2 separate regions of the Homo sapiens genome follow, and region 1 is linked to region 2. Evidence: promoter capture Hi-C in human tissues and cell types (Jung and others, 2019). All regions are on one chromosome and are shown on one strand. Each heading gives the region's core, a stretch centred on a gene start or on the middle of the fragment in contact. The rest is flanking DNA. Distances are from core to core; before and after follow the strand shown. Region 1 holds the start of ELAVL3 (ELAV like RNA binding protein 3). Region 2 holds the start of EPOR (erythropoietin receptor).

What was found. Contacts are between HindIII fragments. The study calls those that stand out against the background at their distance.
Region 1: a contact is called between the fragment with the promoter of ELAVL3 here and the fragment with the promoter of EPOR in region 2, in 11 of the 25 tissues and cell types used here (IMR-90 fibroblasts, adrenal gland, aorta and 8 more).

Annotation. Positions count from the first base shown.
Region 1 is chr19:11,478,401-11,482,634 of GRCh38, forward strand. It overlaps ELAVL3 (ELAV like RNA binding protein 3), which reads right to left and starts at 2,646. Exons shown (of 7, transcript NM_001420.4): 1 at 2,200-2,646. The coding sequence starts at 2,208. RefSeq lists silencers at 1,164-1,358, 3,733-3,982, 4,013-4,234. The HindIII fragment of the contact is 31,814 bases long and covers 1-4,234 here.
Region 2 is chr19:11,381,491-11,386,140 of GRCh38, forward strand. EPOR (erythropoietin receptor) reads right to left here and starts at 2,824. Exons shown (of 8, transcript NM_000121.4): 1 at 2,603-2,824; 2 at 1,607-1,742; 3 at 440-615; 4 at 202-359. The coding sequence starts at 2,717. RefSeq lists enhancers at 1-464, 131-200, 451-510, 521-610 and a silencer at 2,064-2,123. The HindIII fragment of the contact is 19,405 bases long and covers 1-4,650 here.

The DNA.
Region 1 (4,234 bases), core at 1,396-3,895, 97 kb after region 2:
GATGGAAGCCACACCCGCCCTGCCCCAGCCTGCAGTAAGTGCACAGCCTGGGATGGTGGCTACATGGGCATCAAAGGGACTTCGGCGACTGGCCCCAGACAGAGATGGGGGGGTGGCAAAGTCAGGGAGGAGGAGGGCAGATAAAAGATGGAGGGTTAGGGAAGCTTCCCATTCTCTCCAGTGCTTCTTCTAAGTCTCCCCCGACTTTTGGTTTCTCTCTCCCTCTTTCTTCCTCTGTTTCCCTCTCTTCTCCACTGTCCTGCCCTCTCTCTGAACCGTTCTGTGTCCCTGGCCTCATCACTCTCTCTTCCTCTTTTCCACCATCGCACATACATCTGACGTATGGGTTTTGCAGTGAACACACCTGAGGCCACTTTTTTCTTAAAACCTCCTGTGTCTGACCCCCACGGCCCCCAGCTGCGGCCCCTGGCCCCAGTCACAGTGACAGATGCCTGGATACCGGCGACAATAGGGCATTGAGTGGCTATGCATGGTGAGGCTGGGCTACCACGTGGTGCTGACTGAGCCTCCTACTTCTGGGCCCTTCTTCAATGCAGGGTCCTCCTGGTCTTAATTTGTCACCTCTCTTCCTCCCAGCCTGTCCCCATGATACATCTCTGCCCCAGGGCTCGCTCACTGGAGAACCTAGGTCCTCAAGGCCCTTGTGTGACCTCTGACCACACCCTCTTTCCCTTTGTGCATTAGTTTCCTTTTTCAAATGAGAGAACCGATCAGAGGACGCTTAGGAGATGCTGGACTGTTGCGGGAGTTCTGAGGTCCTCAGGAGGCCACACTCCAGTTCCCAGACCTGGGTGAACAGCACGAGGCCCAGAGAGGGAAAGGAACGGCCTGAGGTCACACAGCAGGTGAGCCAGGCCTCCGGGACCTCATTTCTCAGAGCCAGGTGGGCGGGTCCCAGGGTCCAGGAGGGGAGAGGCTTAGGCATGGAGGGAGCGCCAATCATGCCCCCACCCCCAGTGCTAGCCACGACTCGAAAAAGGGGCCCGGAAAGAGACACAATGCACAGAGACACACACGCAGAGACGGAGAGATAGGAAGAGTGGAAGAGGGAGGCCCAGGCGCCGGGACCAGACAAAGGACGCGCGGCGGCGCGGGGAGCGGAGTCGCGCGGCAGGGGCGGGGGTGGAGCCGGGGTGGGGCTATAACTGGCCAGCCCCGCCCCCGGGATACGCCCGGGCTGCCGAGTGGGAATCCGAGGGCTCGGGCGAGGCCGGGCCCCCGGGGCCCTGGGGGCGGGGCCTAGATGGGCGTGCCCGGGCGTGGCCAGGCAGGGCGTGGCAGGGCGGGAGGGGCTGCGCGCTCGGGAGCTGACCAGCTCCGTGGCTGCTGAAAGCACCGAGCGCGGGGCTAGCGGTGCGGGCGAGCAGGCGGGCGGGCCGCGCTCAAGGTCACCTCGCGGCCCAGAGCCTTGGCGAGGTGGGGAGCCTGGACCTGGCCTAAGGGGGCTGTCTCGGCCTCCCACCCCATCTCCCGGGGGGCGGAGACCCGGGAGCCCAGAGGTGCCCCCCCAACCCGCGGGCCCTCCTCTCCCCTCCCCCTCCCCGCAGCCCGAGGCGCCCGCGCGAGGCTGCGGCCCGCGAAGAAGCGCCGAGAAACAAAGGGACGCGGCAGCAGCGGCGGCGGGCCCGCGGGGCCTCCGGGCGCGCCCCCTCCTCTCCCCTCCCCGCTTGCCGCAAGGTCGACGGGCTCGAGGACGAGACGCCCGCCTCCCGGGTGCGGCCGAGGCCCGGGGCGCGCGATCCGACGCCACCCGCTTTCCCAGGGCTCTCGGGGACGCTTTGTCGCTTTGGCTTGGCCCAGCACCAGTGATCGGGCCCTGCGTTTGCCTGGGCGGCCTGCGGGGTCTGGGCCTGGATGGAGGAAGCATCCTTAGCCGCCGCGGCCCCTCCCCCATCAGGCCTGCTGGAGAGGGGGCAATCCCGCCTCCAGGGCGGCGTCGGACGCCTCCCGAATCGCAGTCAGTCTCCCTAAGGCCCTCTCAGACCAAGCTCTAAGCGCCCTCAGCACTCTGGGCGCGGCCCTGCCCACTCTCAGGCCCCGAGGCTTGGTCCTACCCCCCCAACCCGGGCCTAGCTAGGCCTGGTCCTACCCCCCCCGCCGCACCCGCCCAATCTCCGCGGAGCCTGGGCCCAACTCCTCCCCGTCCCGATTCCCTTTCGGCGACAGGGGAATACCTACAGTGACCATTCTTGTGTGCCCGGCGGGCGCGGTCCGTGTTGAGGGGGGCTCCGGGGGTGGTGCACTCCTAGGGGGGCGCCCGATGCTCACGCTGGGGTCCCGCCCGGGCGGCCTCTGGTGCGGCCGCTGCAGATGTGGCGATGAAGGCGGCGGCTCCCTCGAGGGCCAGGGACGGGCCCGAACCCGGGGATGCGCGCGCGGATGGCCGGGCCCCGGGGTGGCCTGCGGGCGGCAGGGGATGGAAAGAGGGAGCGGGCGCGGGGTTGAGGACGCCCCCTGCGCGGCCCCGCGGGGCCCGGGGAGGTTGCGCTTCCCGACAGAGATCGCGGCGCTCTGCCTTTCGCCGCCGCCCCTCGGTCGGTCCTGTCCGGTCCCGTGTGTTCAAGTCCTCTCCCCTCGCCCACCCTCCCTCCCTCCCTCCGGCCCGCGCTGCGCGCTCCGCGCTCTGGACCGCGCCGCCGCCGCCCCCAGCCCTTTATAGCAGCAGCTGCCAGCGCCGGCGTCGCTCATTGGCTGCGGCGACCGAGCTCCGCCTCCTCGCGGCTCCCGACGGCGCGGCAGGTGGAAGTGAGCGCGCACTGGTCGGGACTCTGAATCCCCCAAAAGCGCATCCTAGGTGCTCGGGTTGCCAGATTTGGGCCCTCCTTCCCTCGAGGCCCTTGCTTCCTACCCTGGCACCCCTTCTTGGGCTGGCTTTCGGGCCAGGAGACGGGCTCCCCTCCTCCGTCCAGCTCCTAGAGCTGGAGGAGCCAACAGAGCGAGGAGGTATTAGTGGCCTGAATATGCGACCTTCCAGAGGTGTTGTCCACTGAGGGAACTGGACAGGGGATCAGGAACCAATATTTTAGTAGGCAGAGGCCTGGGTCCCCAGATTTGGAGGCACCAGTGTAGACCACCTCAAGACCACGGGGGAGGGTGGCTACTGTGGCCCTAGTCTTCTGCAGAAGGAGACTGGGACGCTGTTGGTTTTGAGTGAGCTGGATCCTTCTAGGGTTCAAAAGGTAAGGACTGGCACTCCCCAGTGCAAGGAAACTCCGCACTGCTCCGAAGGGGGTGAAAAGGTTTGGGGCTCAGTGTTCTGGACAATCATCGCTGGAGCCATGCAGCTCTGGGAAACCACGGATCCTTCTTGGACCCCACAGAACTGGGGTGGGTGGATCTGCCACATAAATGTCCTGGCTTTCTAGGCTCGTGATTGGTCCTCCTGACTGTGGAGTCATGCTCGCTCTCTGCTAGGGGGAACCTGGCCTCTCTCTAAGGCGTTGGGGGTGGCGCAGCCTCCTTTGGTGCGCGGGCGCCGGTGCATGTTTACGTCGGGGCGCGGGAACTAGCACACACTGGGGCGGGGTCGCCAGGGCGTGAGGCTTCAGCACCACAGACAGCAATCCGACAGTCCGGTCGAGGGCGCTGCCGGCGAGGTAGCCCAGACCCCCTAACTGGAGAGCGGCAGTCCCCACCCAATCCTCGTTCCTGCACGCCCTTTAGGCTCCAGACTGTCAGAGAGCGCCACCAGCGAGGAGAGCCTAATTTGCCCAATCAGGGGCGGCCCTTGAGATAACCAGTTACTGGAAGATGCCCTAGAGATCGAGCCAATGGGAGTGCGCGCACCAGGGGATGCTGCCACGCCTGGAAAGGGCAGGCCAATCGCAGTGGCCCGCGCAATAGGGGCGGTGGCGGTGCAGATCCCCGGGTGGCCCCTCTTGGGCTCGCCGGGGCGACCTGGCTGCGGGCGCTAGGGGCCCCAAGCGATGGTCTGTTCCCCACCCCGTGTTCCTCCCGGTTTCCGTCATCGGAAACTGAGCTAGGAGGGGGGCTGCTCCTGGGCGCGCGGACCCCGCTGCGGTTCCCATGGAAACCTGCCGGCTCCGGCAGTGCGGGGAGAGTGGAGGGGACCTGCCTCGCGGGGGGAGGGAGCTCGCGGGGGCGGCCCCAGCGGCCGGACTCGCTCATCCTTGCCGATTCTTCTGTCCCCGGCTGGGGTAGCCCCCCGGTCCGCAGCAGGAACTGAGGCATAGCTGGGGCCCCGCCTCATCCC
Region 2 (4,650 bases), core at 1,574-4,073:
GAAGTTGGGGTTCAACAGGCTTGCGAGGACATTAGGAAAGGGGGTGTGTCTGTGGGCGTGGAACGGTCTTCAGCACCAGGGTAATGGGATGTGGGATGTTACGGACCGGCCCTGAAAGCGGCACCGGGCGCGACCTCGAGAGGCGTGGCTGGGCCGTAGTCAGTGGAGCTTTGGGGGCTGGGCCGTAGGGGCTGGCCTCACCCTCTGTACGCTCCCTGCGCCGTTGCCGGCCGAGACGTCCACCTCGTAGCGGATGTGAGACGTCATGGGTGTCTCAGGCGGCGGGAGCCAGCGCAACACTACGTGGCCGCTCTCGTCAGCCAACCGCGCCACCAGCCCCACGGGGGCGTCTAGGAGCACTGCAGGCATGGGGGTTGGTCAGGTGGGCGAGGACTGAGACCCTCTCCTCCGACCACTCCTCCATTCCCAGAGCACTTACCTACTTCATTGATGTGGATGACACGGTGATATCGCGGAGCGCCGGAGGCTGCTGTGACGCGCAACTCTAGGGGCACGAAGCTCGACGTGTCGGCTGTAGGCAGCGAACACCAGAAGCGCACCGCACCACGAGCCGTGGGAGCCTGGTGCAGGCGACACAGCTTCCATGGCTCATCCCTATGCGCCCAGGGAAGGGAGCAGGTTGGGAGGGGGGACCGGGGAGTTGGCATTGCCCGGCCTGTGGGGGGCAGTGTGTATGTGTGACACAAGGTCTAGCCTTGTGTGTGTGTGTGACAAGGTGTTCCTTCGTCGCCCAGGCTGGAGTGCAGTGGCGCGATCATGGCTCACTGCAGCCTCAAATTCTGGGGCTTAAGGGATCCTCCCACCTCAGCTTCCCAAGTAGTTGAGACCACAGGCACGCGCCACGCCTGGCTTTTTTTTTTTTTTTTTTTGAGACGGAGTTTCGCTCTTGTTGCCCAGGCTGGAGTGCAATGGCGCTACCTCGGCTCACCGCAACCTCCGCCTCCCGGGTTCAAGCGATTCTCCTGCCTCAGCCTCCCGAGTAGCTGGGATCACAGGCATGCGCCACCACGCCCGGCTAATTTTGTATTTTTAGTAGAGATAGAGTTTCTCCATGTTGGCCAGGCTGGTCTCAAACTCCCGACCTCAGGTGATCCGCCCGCCTCAGCCTCCCAAAGTGCTGGGATTACAGGCGTGAGCCACCGCGCCCAGTCTAATTTTTTTTTAAGAGACGGGGATCTCGCTGTGTTGCCCAGGCTGGTCTTGAACTCCTGGGCTCAAGCGGTTCTTCCGCCTCGACCTTCCAAAGAGTTGGGATTACAGGCATGAGCCACTGCTGGCCTCCTTTTGGATACTACCTCGAGAAGGCGTCCCAGCCCCGACGTAGTAACGCCTTACCCTCGATTTGGAGGCGTTGTTATCCCAGCCTGATGTTTGGGGTCGCGTTCCAGCGGTGATCGCGGGAGTGTTCGCGCCCCGGCCCATAGAGGGCGTGCCAGCCCTGGACCCGCAGGTTTCCCTCCAGTGACCACGACTGGAGGCGCCGTCGGGCCTCAAACAGCAGGGGACATACGAGGCTACGACCTCCAGGGAGCTCTGCCCCACCCCCTCCCTCCGCCCTTGGAGGCACCCGCCGGATCGGACTCACTCGAGCTGGTAGGAGAAGCTGTAGTTGCCCGGGCCCACCCCAGCGCTCGCCGCTTCCTCCCAGAAACACACCAAGTCCTCCAACCGCTCGGTGAAGCACAGAAGCTCTTCGGGCCCCCGGGCCGCCAGCAAGGCCGCTGGGGAGGGGCGACAAAGGAAGGGCATGGGGGTCTGAGCTCTATCCTCGGGAGACAGCCCCCTCCTCTTCCCTCCCGCAGCCTGGGCGGACCCGATAAGAAAAAAGCCCCGCCCTGCCATCTTCCCAAGCGGGTCCCTTGGAGGGGTCCGCAGAGGTGGTGCCCCCCTAATTCCCAGGGGCAAGTTTCTCGCCTTACTGTCCCCCGCCGTCACCACTGGCGCACACCTGCCCACCCAGCGGCCAGCTGAGCTGGGCGCGGCGTTCAAGACCTCGAGCTCGGGACTGCCAGCCCCGCCCCAGCCTAGGACACGCGCGCGGCTGGGGGTGTGTGCGGAGAGGCGGGCCCCCTATCGGCCCCGGCAGGCTCCCCGCCAACCGATAGCGCCAACCGTGCCCCCCGCCTCCCTCCCTCCACCGGGCCGGGCAAGTGATCTGGCGCCCTCACACAAACCGTGTTTACAGTAGCCTGTGGCTTGGCCCCTCTAACTCGGACCCGGGCTTTACCCTCCCTCCCCTAGGGAGGGTCGGCTTGGTCCCCACCCCCCAGGGACCTTAGCACCAAGTCAGCCCCCTTAGGATTTAGCATGTCCCAGACTCCCTGAAAAGGTAAAACGGGAATGTTAAGCCCACTCTAGCTCTTGCCCGGGACGCGATCAGGAGTCTTGGATCCTAACATACCCCACCCCGCCCCCCACCCATCCAGGACCCAGTCTAAGGGTTCAGATGCCAGCTTGGCCCCCAGGACCCGGTCAGGAAGTCCAGAAACAGGCATGGCCCCCAGGACCTAGGCTGGGAGTTCAGGCCCCAGCATGGTCCTGCAGGCTCCAGCGTAGGGGTCCACACGCAGCTCATCCTTACCTTTGCTCTCGAACTTGGGGTCCGGGAGGTTAGGCGGGGGCGCCCAGGCGGCCCCAGCGAGCAGGAGACAAAGGGAGCCGACCTGGGGCCAGAGGGACGCCCCGAGGTGGTCCATGATACAGCCCCCGCCACGGGGAGCCCAGGGCTCCTGCCCCTCCGTCCCCCGCCCCCGGCACAGTCCACAGCTGGGTCAGCAGCTGCCTCCGCCGGACGCAGCTGACCAGGCCCTTCCCGACCAGGCGCCTCTAAGTGGCAGATCCCCGAGGGGGCGGGGCCAGCACTCAGCCTGGGTAGAGATAAGTGCCTGGCGGGAGGAGGCAGGGGCCCTTCCCGAGCCCAGAGGCCGCTTGGGGGCAGGGGAGGGAGTTGGGCCGCAACAGCTCCCGTTCTGGCTTCAGACACACGTTTTTTTTTTCTTTGTGGCCCTGGACAGGTGACTTACCTTACCTGAGCTTCAGACTTCTCATCTGTAAAATCTAGCCTGGCACATAGCGAACATTCCAAAAAATGTACCTACTGATTTTATCGCAGAAATCAGCATCTCTTCCCAGCCTGGAAATAAATAAAAATTATTTTCTCTCTCTCTCTCTCTCTCTCTCTCTCTCTCTCTCCTTTCCTTCCTTCCTTCCTTCCTTCCTTCCTTCCTTCCTTCCTTCCTTCCTTCCCTCCTTCCCTCCTTCCCCCTCTCTCTCTCTGTCTCAGGGTGTTGCTCTGTCACCCAGGCTGGAGTGCAGTGGCACAATCATAGCTCACTGCAGCCTCTGGACTGAAGCAATCTTCCCACTGCACCTGGCTAATTTTTAAAATTCTTTGTAGAGATGGGATCCCACTATGTTGTCCAGGCTGGTCTTGAAATCCCGGACTTAAGCAATCCTCCAGCCTCCATCTCCCAATGTGCTGGGAATACCAGCACGAGCCACTGAAGCCGGCCAATAATAATCCTTGCAACGACCAGCAGTTGAGTGTTTGCACAGTGCTAGGCCATGCTCCTGGGCAGTATGCATAATATGTGAGATTTTCATTTACGAATTTTTGGGAAAAAAATTTTTACCACCCACATTTTTATTCTCTTGGGCTGGGCCCGGTGGCTCACGCCTATAATCCCAGCACTTTGGGAGGCCGACGTGGGCAAATCACTTGAGGTCAGGAGTTTGAGACCAGCCTGGCCAACATGGTGAAATCCCATCTCTACTAAAAATACAAAAATTAGCCAGGTGTGGTGGCGTGTGCCTGTAATCCCAGCTACTCAGGAGGCTGAGGCATGAGAACTGCTTCAGTCTGGGAGATGAAGATTGCAGTGAGCCAAGATCATGCCACTGCAACTCCAGCCTGGGCAACAGAGTGAGACTGCATCTCAAAAAATAATAATAATTGGCTGGGCGCGGTGGCTCATACCTGTAATCCCAACACTTTGGGAGGCCGAGACAGGCGGATCATGAGGTCAGGAGTTCGAGACCAGCCTGGGCAACATGGCGAAACCACGTCTCTACTAAAAATACAAAAATTAGCCAGGCGTAGGCCGGGCGCGGTGGCTCACGCCTGTAATCCCAGCACTTTGGGAGGCCGAGGTGGGCAGATCACGAGGTCAAGAGATCAAGACCATCCTGGCCAACATGGTAAAACCCCATCTCTACCAAAAATACAAAAATTAGATGGGCGTGGTGCTGCATGCCTGTAATCCCAGCTACTTGGGAGGCTGCAGGAGAATCGCTTGAACCCAGGAGCCGGAGGTTTCAGTGAGCCGATATTGTGCCACTGCACTCCAGCCTGGTGACAGAGCGGGACTCCGTCTCAAAAAATATATATATATATTCGAGCGTGGTGGTGGGTGCCTGTAATCCCAGCTACTCAGGAGGCTGAGGCAGGAGAATTGCTTGAAACCAGAAGGCAGAGGTTGCAGTGAGCTGAGATCACACCATTGCACTCCAGGCTGTGCAACAAGATTGAAACTCTGTTTCAAAAAAATAAATAAATAGTCCATGCACAGTGGCTCATGCCTGTAATCCCAGCACTTTGGGAGGCCGAGGTGGGTGGATCACAAGGTCAGG